Regions from separate parts of the Homo sapiens genome. Here region 1 is linked to region 2. Evidence: promoter capture Hi-C in human tissues and cell types (Jung and others, 2019). All regions are on one chromosome and are shown on one strand. Each heading gives the region's core, a stretch centred on a gene start or on the middle of the fragment in contact. The rest is flanking DNA. Distances are from core to core; before and after follow the strand shown.

Region 1 (4,591 bases), core at 892-3,391, 830 kb after region 2:
AGGGTGTCCAAATGGCCACTAAACATGTGGAGAGGTGCTCCGCTTCATTAGTCAGAAGGGAAGTGCACATTCCCACCACAAGGCAATACCACTACACACCCAGCAGAAGGGCCAAAATGAAAAAGGCAAAAAAAAGCACTGTTGTGAGGATGTGAAGCCACGCAAACCCTCACGGCTGCTGCGGGGAATGTACGCTGGTACGACAACATACCCAGTGGAAGATGCTCTATCAGACCCTAAAGCTCAACTTCAGCATGCTCCAGGCCCCAGGTATATGCCTCCTAGCTACATGCCCAGTGGACATGCAACAGGAAGTTCAGAGAAGCACCATCCAAAATAACTCTCAAACTAGAAACTACCCAGTGGGTTAGGTGTCCCAGTGGAGGCTAATATGGGACAGGTGCCATAGGAACTTGGAGGAGGGAGAATGTCTATTAGCAAAGCTTCTCCAAAAAGGTGACTCCCGAGATAACATTTCAGGAAGGAGGAGCTGCCCTGGGTGAGATTCAGGCATGAATCTCATGGTAGGAAAATAAACTGAGGCAAGAGGCGGGAGACAGCATGGTTCCTTTAGGGAAATGCTGGCAGTTCAGCCCTACTGAAGGGTAGGCATGACATGGGGCACGCTGGGAGATGATGCTGCATGGGCTGGCATGGTAGACTGTGAACAGCCTTATCTGCCAAGCTAAGTGCTTAAGGGTTTACTCAAGCGCCATGTGGAGCCACTGCTAAATTTCGAGCTGGTGAATGACACATCAGCTTTTGGATTTGGAAGGTTGTACCAGCCACAGGGTGAAAGGTAGATTGCGGGGAAAGGGTCCGATATTGAAACATCTGATGCCAAATAGGGAGGCTTGCTGCTGAAAATGAGTTTAGGATTGCAGAAGAGAATAAAGGCATCTCAGAGTCATAAAGAAACTTGAGGTTGTGAAAGGGAGCTGCTACCGATTATCTTTGAAGAATCAGAGAAAATGAAAGATGTATAAGAGACAGAGACAGAGAAAGACAGAGACAGATTAGAAAATGTTGTCGTCATCGTGAGGAACAGAAAAAGAAAGGGAGAATTCTGTAATGGCATTTGCAGCAACCTGAATAGGATTGGACACTATTATTCTAAGTGAAGTAACTCAGGAATGGAAAACCGAACATCATATGTTCTGACTCATAAGTGGGAGCTAAGCTATACGGATGCAAAGGCATAAGAATGATACAATGGATTTTGGGGACTTAGCAGGGGAAAGGTGGGAAGTGGGTGAGGGATAAAAGGCTACACATTAGGTACAACGTACACTGCACCAAAATCTCACAAGTCACCTCTAAAGAACTTACTCACGTAACCAAATACTACCTGTTCCCCAAAAATCTATGAAAATAAAAATTTAAAAACAATTTTTTTAAGTGGAATTTTTTAAAGTACATGTCTGAGTCCACCAGTCCCCTGGCAACATTCTCTATACATTATTAAAAGACAGTTTGTGAATGCTAAGGGAAAGATCCAGGAACCACCAGCAGCCAATAGGGATCAATGGATTCACTGACTAAAGAGGTAATAGAAGAACAGCCACAATAGCAGCATATCTGAATTTGAGCAAGTCTTGCTATATAGTTTCATGATGATGTAAAAAATACGAATGATAACACAGATAGATGGATTCATTACTGGCTTCATAACCTCACCCAAAGGGTGTTGAGTAGCTTCATCTGTAGGGACATTGCTCCTAAAATGCCAGAGAACCCTGCCTTTGGTCCTTTATAGCATGATTGTGGTAAAATATATGCAATATAAAATTTACGATTGTAAGTATTTTTTTAATTCCAACTTTTATGTTAGATACAGGTGCAGGTTTGTTATATGGGTATATTGCATCCAGGTAGTGAGCACAGTACTCAATAGGAGGTTTTTCAATCCTCACCCTTCCCTCTCTCCCCACTGAGAGTCCACAATGTCTATTGCTCCCATGTTTATGTCTACTTGTGCTCAGTGTTTAGCTCCTACTTGTAAGAGAGAACATATGGTATTTGGTTTTCCATTCCTACATTAATTTGCTTAGGATTATGGCCTCCAGCTCCATCCATGTTGCTGCAAAGGACATGACTTCATTCTTTTTTACGGCTGCATAGTATTTCATGGTTTATATGTAGAACATTTTCTTTATCCAATCTACCATCAATGGGCACCTAGGTTGATTCCATGTCTTTGCTATTGTGAATAGTGGGGTGATGAACACATGTGAGTACATGTGTCTTGTTGGTATAATGAGCTATTTTCCTTTGGGAATATACCCAGTAATGAGATCACTGGGTCAAATGGTGGCTCTGTTTTAAGTTCTTTGAGAAATCTCCAAACTGCTTTCTATAGTGGTTGAACTAATTTACGCTCCCACCAACAATGTGTAAGTGTTCCCTTCTCTCCACAGCCTCGCCAGCATCTGTTGTTTTTTGGCTTTTCAATAGTGGCCATTCTGACTGGTGCGAGATGGTATCTTGTTAAGGTTTTGATTTGCATTTCCCTCATAATCAGTGATAATGAGCATTATCTTTGATATGTGTGTTGACCATTTGTACGTCTTCTTTTGAGAAGTGTCTGTTCATGTCCTTTGCCTGTTTTTAAATGGGGTTATTTGGTTTTGGCTTGTTGATTTGTTTAAGTTCCTTATAGACTCTGGATATTAGACCTTTGACAGATGCATAGTCTGCAAATATTTTCTCCCATTCTGTAGGTTGTGTGTGTACAGTTTTGTGCGTACAGTTCTAAGTATACAGTTCAGTGACATTAAGTACATTCACAATGTTGTGCAACCATCCCCACCATCCATTCACAGAACTTTTTCGTCTTCCTAAACTGAAACTCCATACCCAATAAACACTAACTCCCCGCCACTTCTCCCCCCAGCCTCTGGTAACCTCTAATCTACTTTCTGTTTCTATGAGTTTACTCTAGCTACCTCATTTGGGTGGAATCACACAGTATTTATCCTTTTGTGTCTGGCTTACTTCACTTAGCATAATGTCTTCAAGGTTCATGCATATCGTAGCATGTGTTTGAACCTCATTCCTTTTTAAGGATCAATAATATTCAATTGAATGTATATACACATTTTGTTTATCCATTTATCCATTAATGGACATTTGGGTTAGTTTGACCTTTTGGTGTAGCATGCTGTTTTTTATTAATAGTTTTCAGCAGGGCTTAGGAGGCAAGCTTACTCCACAACAGAAGGGATAAAGAACATCTATGTAACAGTGAAGATTCACAAAGTTCAAATGTGGATGAGACTCAAAATTGTTCTTCCATATCTATTCTCCTTCCTTCTATGGGGATATAACTTTTAGGAATTTTAGATCACGTTTCCCAGACTCTTGTAACTAAGTATGACCATATGACTACATTCTGGCTACTGGAATATGAATAGACATTGATAAGTGCAATTTCCAAGTCATGCTTTTAGAAGGAAGAGGCATGCACTTCCCTTCCCCCTTTCCCCTTCTTGCTAGCTGGAATGCAGATGCGATGGCAATTGCTAGAGCAGCCATTATGGACCATGAGATGAGAGCTACATGTTGAAGAAGGCAGAGCAATGACACAAAAGGAACCTTGGTTCCCAACCTATAAAGCTGTCATGTGAAGTCTGGATCACTTATGCCCAGCTTGCTACCTGAGACAGAAATAAACCTCTATCTTGTTTAAGCCACTATTATTTTGGGTCTCTCCAATCCAACAGAGAAACCAGTAGACCAACTAATATTTCAGTGAATGCTGAGTTACCTAATAAGAGAAATGATGTTTTTGTTTTTCTGTTACTATGCCATTTAGTTACAGCTGGTGGATTTCCCCTGAATTTGTAGAATATGGTTTATGGTCTGACTTAAAGACCACACGGTATACCCAAAATTTCCTTGATAGAGACACCTCATAAAAGGTGAAGTCATCCTACAGACATGACTTCTGGAGCACAGGTTTTCTACATGGAGTCCCCACCTCTGTGTGTCCTACTCTAGGGAGAGCAGCAGGGATTGAGCTATTTAAAGGCCAGACACTCATTGGAGCAAACTGGGCTGGCCAGTTAGTATTGAAGCGACTTAAGTCGAGAGAGTAATATTTTTATAAATGAATTAGGGGTAATCTCTTACTGGTCAATAAAGTACCATGAGAATAAATTATGGGCATTATTACAAAATTTTTTCTCCTTAAACAAGGTCAGATATTTTAGTGAAAAATAACATTTTCACCTCCATCTACTGAGCAGATCTTCGGAGTAACACAGCCAACGAGAAGTAAGCCTGCAGCTTTGAAAATGCAGGAAAGGTAGGGGGAGGAGGGGAGATGGGACCCTCTGAGGCCACTGAGCTCTGGACCCAAGTTGCAACTGTGGCCGTTATCATATGATTACCATGGCTGCAACCCAATCCCTTCAACAGCCCCTGGACAGGAGCCTTGATGGGAACCTGGCAGAGTTGAGCCATGGTCCAAGAAGGAGCATTCTTGACCAGCTACATCTATCTCAGAGGAGAGTGCTGGACTGTAATAGCACAGTGCCTTGGACCACAGTTGGGAGAATGAGGGAATGGGAAGTTGGACGCCTCCTTCTTT
Region 2 (4,439 bases), core at 582-3,081:
CTCTGCCCCGGCCGGAGCCTCCTGGCGTCCCCCCTCCCTCCCTCCGCTGCCCCACCCCCGCGCTGTACCCGGGGGCTCCACCCGGCTTCGCTCCCTCAAGTAGCCCACGGCGAACTCCAATATCTCCGCTTTCTCCAGCTTCGGGTTCCGGAGGTTCTACAGACGGGAGGGGAGGGCGCAGAGACAGAAAGGGGTGGGGAGAAAGGGGGAAAGTGGCAGGGGGAAGAAGGGAGGGACGGATGCGGGAGCTGGTGGTGCCCCCGATCGCATTTGCGCACTGCCCACAGAACGCGCGACCAAATGCGGAGTGGAGATGACCAAGGAAAGTCCTGGCCCACCCTGAGACGAAACTGTCCAATCCTAGGGGTTGGAACCAATGCCCAACGCGTGAGGAGGAGATTTGAAACCGCAACCCAGGGAATGAAATTAACCACCCGACATAACAGAGGCTGGCTCATCAGAGGCTGGCTGTGGGGGAGGGGGAACCGGACACTTAGAGACCCAAAGGGTGAAACTGACCGACCCCGGGAGCGAAATTTACAGAACCAGGCGTGAAACTTACAGACCCGAGGGGTGGCGAAGAAGATCGCGTTCTGAGAGCGAGTGGGGGTCTGGGATGGAATTCCAAAGGCGGGACTCGGGTGAGGATGCCTTGGGGCCAGGGTTGCCAACCAAGCTTGTGTCCCCACCCCAGTGGGAAGCCCTGGGACGCGGAAACGGGAAGCTTGGGGACCTAGGGCTAGCGGAGGGACTGACCTGGTCCCGGGTCCGCTCCAGCAGCAGCAGCCTCAGCTCTTCCAGGCTGCGGTTGATGCGGTCCCGGCGCCGCTTCTCCACAAGCGGCTTGAGCATCTGCGACCAGCGAGAAAAGGAGAGCGGGCCGACCAGACCGAGACTCAGTGCGGCCGCCCCGGCGTCGGATCCCGCCGCTGGGAGAGCCCGGCTTCCACCCCGGCCACAAGACCCCAGATTGCCTAGGGCCGGCCCCATTCGATCCCTCTCCGCTCCCCCTCCCAATGCCCCTAGATCAGTTTCTGTAGCTCGCCTCCCCGGATCTTCGCATTCTCCTCTCTCAGTCTCGTCCTCCCTCCTCCCCTCTCTGTGTCTCTCCTCCTCTTTTCTCTCTACGTCTCCGTCTGGTGCAGTTTCTCTTTGTCTCAGTGGAGAACTTTGGGGACTCTCTGCGCGCACGCACGTGCGCCGCACGGTGCCGGGCTCAGACCTGGCGGCCCTGAGTATAGAAAGGGAGATACCTAGCGCGACCGCGCCGCCTCTTTTCCCTCAAAACCCTCCAGGCCTTCACCTTCTCCACGGTTCTCCTAAAATCTTCCACCAGTCTGGGGCCTCTGGAACCAACGCCCCGGGACCTTCTGTACAAGACCGCCTTGGGCCAGCCCCGCCCGGCTCACAGCCAGAGTGGAGCAAGTGCCTATCCTCTTCTCTTTTCGTTCCCACCCTCCTCCCTTGGCTCTGCCCTCTAATTGCTTATTTTACTCCAACACCGGCCCCCTCCCCAGGCCACAAGGTGCCGACACCCATTACCGAGGCCCCTAGTCCTATGTTCCCGCCGCCCACTCAGGTCTGGCTCTGACCCCTGTCCCCTTCTTCATATTTTGCAGCTTCCTCTCCAGCTTCTGGCTCCTGGAGTTCTGGAGCACCGCTCCCCTTCCACCCCTGCGTCCCCAGCCTCTCTCCAGACCGACGGCGTCAGGGGCCCAGTCCCCTAGCCAAACCAGGGACCTCTGCTCCCTCCCCTCCCGCCTCTCACCTTGGGGCCGTCCCTATTCTCAGCTCGATCCCGGGTGACCATTGCTCCTCCGGACCCTGTGTGGACCGGTTCCCTGCTCGCCTGGAGCCTTATATTCCGCGGCCCAAGGGTAGGAGGGATAGGACCCGACCCCGCCCCCTTCGACATCCAGATTCTGCCCCTCTAGGACCCGGCACGAGGCTCCCGGAAAGAGGAGGAGTGAAGGGGGGAGGGGAAGGAGAGAAACTGGCCTGGGAGTGCGGGAAGTGAGGGGTGAATGGGGGCACTGGCTGGTTTACAGACCGTAAGGCTGTATAAGGAGGCGGGACCCAGCTGAAAGGAGGAGGCTATTGGGGCAGAGCTCGCTTGGGGATGAAATTCAGAGTTCCTCCAGAATTGCAGCTTTCTGGGAGGCTTACTGTACCCTCACTAACCCTGAAATAGAAGTTAGCACCTCTCAGCCCCCAGGCTGAATTTTATACATCATCTCCGAAGTTCGCTTCCTAGTCGAGACAGGGAGCAACCCGAGTGCGCTGGGTGAATCTGTCCGACTCAACCGAAGCTCTGCCGGGAGGTTGGAGAGGCGCTCTCTTCTATCTAAGCCAGTTACATTCAAGTCCGCGAACATCTGCGCGCCCACTCTGCGGACAGGGCACTTGTCTAGGCTCGGGCGAGTCATAGTGAGATACGCAGGAGAGACCCAGCTTATCCCTGCAGGATCTAATGGAAAAGACCATGTGACACCAAGTAGCTATTACAGAAGCCCAGTGAAGTAGGTGCTCCGGGAAAAGGTCTCCTTAAGGATGGCTGGACTGAGGAGGATCTTCAAGGCAGAGGGAGCAAGTCTTTGAAACATAGGTATGAGTGGAGAGGTCTTTCCACTTACAGTACAAGTATTTGATTCAAAACTAGTCATAGGAGATTCAGGAGTGTGGCTGATAGGACACCTCACGCAAGTGTGCCCGCATTGCTTGCTTCTGGAGGCCCCTGGTGACTGTAGGGTAGCAGGGAGCAGGCAGTTTACTAAGGGGAAAGCAAGGGGTACAAAAAAGGGATCAACACCCACCTCAAACCAAGAGCATGACCCTCCGCAGAACGATGCCTGACCACTCGAGGGCTTCAGGACAAAGTGTCTGAGAAGATAAATCAGAAACTGAAGGGAACAGCCAGGTTGCCAGGGATAAAGACACGGAAAGACAGGGTTGCAGACCGAGACGGAAGACAGCTGTGAAATCAGAGACCAATGGGGTTTCCTTCAAGCCCTCCCAACGGCCCTCCGCACCTTGGTTTTGTCACGAAGCCTTTCTTGCCATCATAGCCCGAGCCGGGAGAGGCACAGACCTTGAGGAGGGGGCTCCCATTTGGGATCAGGGCCCCCAGCACATCCCACCTCTCCGTCCTTCAGCCAAATGGGAACGCAAATGTGTGTCCCCATCAGCCCCCGCCGCCCCCCTCCTTGGGAACCTGGGCTCGGGCTGAATTTTTCTCACCTGCACGCGAGGCTGGGGGCCCCCGGCTGTTCGCACCCGGGTGTGGGGCCGCCCCTGGCCATATGGGGCGGCTTTATGGCCCGGTGGCCGGATCCGGACGAGAGGAAGGATGACTTGGCGCTCCACCCACGGCAACCATTCGGGACCACTTCCCTGGCCTACACCGTTGCCTGTCCGGGTCCGCCTCAACCTCTTACAATCTCAGATAGGATCCCCGCAGAATCTTTAAGCCGCGCATTGGTGGTTCAGTGGTAGAATTCTCGCCTGCCACGCGGGAGGCCCGGGTTCGATTCCCGGCCAATGCACGAGTACAGTTTTCTTTTCTCCCCTCCAAAAAAAGGATAATATATTTGGTAGCATTTCTAAGAAACATCTTCACTTAAATATTTCTACCAAATATTAATCTTAACCTTTTGACTATAGCAGAGTTTGCAGCCCCAGGCCTAAACGATTCCGCACGCCCTCGCACTCCCCTCCTCCCAGCATGGGGGTCCTGCAGCCTCCACACCCCCCTCCCTCCGTCCCCGGCCCGCACCTCCGCAGGCGTGACCCTGAGAAAGGACACAGTGCTCGGATCTCGGCCCCCCGCGGGGGAAGGGCCAGGTCTCCCCGCCCCCCACTCTACATCCCTTGTTCTTTCCACCTCTCTTCCTCTGTTATTTTCCGTTCTCTCTGAAGCACGCTTTCTTTTCTTAAGTCTATGGGTCTATGCCTTTTTTGTCTCGCCTCCTTTCCGGGTCTCTGAGTGTCTCTTAGCTCCTCCATCTCTGTATCTCTCACGTTTTTTCCAGATCTTCAGCGACTTCTGCCCTGGGTCTCTCTGGTGTTGGTGGTCTCCTCCCTCCGCATCTCTGATTCCGCGTCTCTCCGCGTCTTGGCGTCTGCATCTCCGCCTCTGGCTCTCTCGGGTCTCTGGTATCTCGTCGTCTCTCCGAGTCTCTGTCGCCTCCCGGGACTCTGCGCTCCCACGCTCCTGCCATCCCCTGGGAAGCTCGCTGACACTTCCAGGTTCCTGCCACCTCCCCTCCCCGCCCCTTCCCGGCCGCTTTGATCCCGCACGCGTCGGCCCGAGGGCGGGCGGGTGGGCGCACAGCCACCTGCGGCGACCACTTGTGAGCGGGGCGGGGCGGGCCGGCTGGGCGGGGCGGCGGGGCTCCCCGCGGTCCGCTCCCTTCCGGCGCGCTCCGCCTCCCACCGCTCGC

The links. The method cuts DNA at HindIII sites, captures the fragments that hold promoters and counts their contacts. A contact is called where the count stands out against the background at its distance.
Region 1: a fragment that was not itself captured here is called in contact with the fragment with the promoter of HES7 in region 2 in 1 of the 25 tissues and cell types used here (lymphoblastoid cells).

Annotation. Positions count from the first base shown.
Region 1 is chr17:8,948,530-8,953,120 of GRCh38, forward strand. The region is part of intron 1 of PIK3R5 (phosphoinositide-3-kinase regulatory subunit 5); the gene reads right to left. Among named protein-coding and RNA genes, the nearest start is that of PIK3R5, 15 kb to the right of the region's middle. The HindIII fragment of the contact is 5,738 bases long and covers 1-4,591 here.
Region 2 is chr17:8,122,275-8,126,713 of GRCh38, forward strand. HES7 (hes family bHLH transcription factor 7) reads right to left here and starts at 1,832. Exons shown (of 4, transcript NM_001165967.2): 1 at 1,769-1,832; 2 at 757-852; 3 at 69-156. The coding sequence starts at 1,810. TRG-GCC2-6 (tRNA-Gly (anticodon GCC) 2-6) reads left to right here and starts at 3,472; the gene lies at 3,472-3,542. RefSeq lists enhancers at 1,690-2,210, 3,487-4,288, 4,101-4,160 and silencers at 3,351-3,400, 3,511-3,560, 4,241-4,430. The HindIII fragment of the contact is 8,809 bases long and covers 1-4,439 here.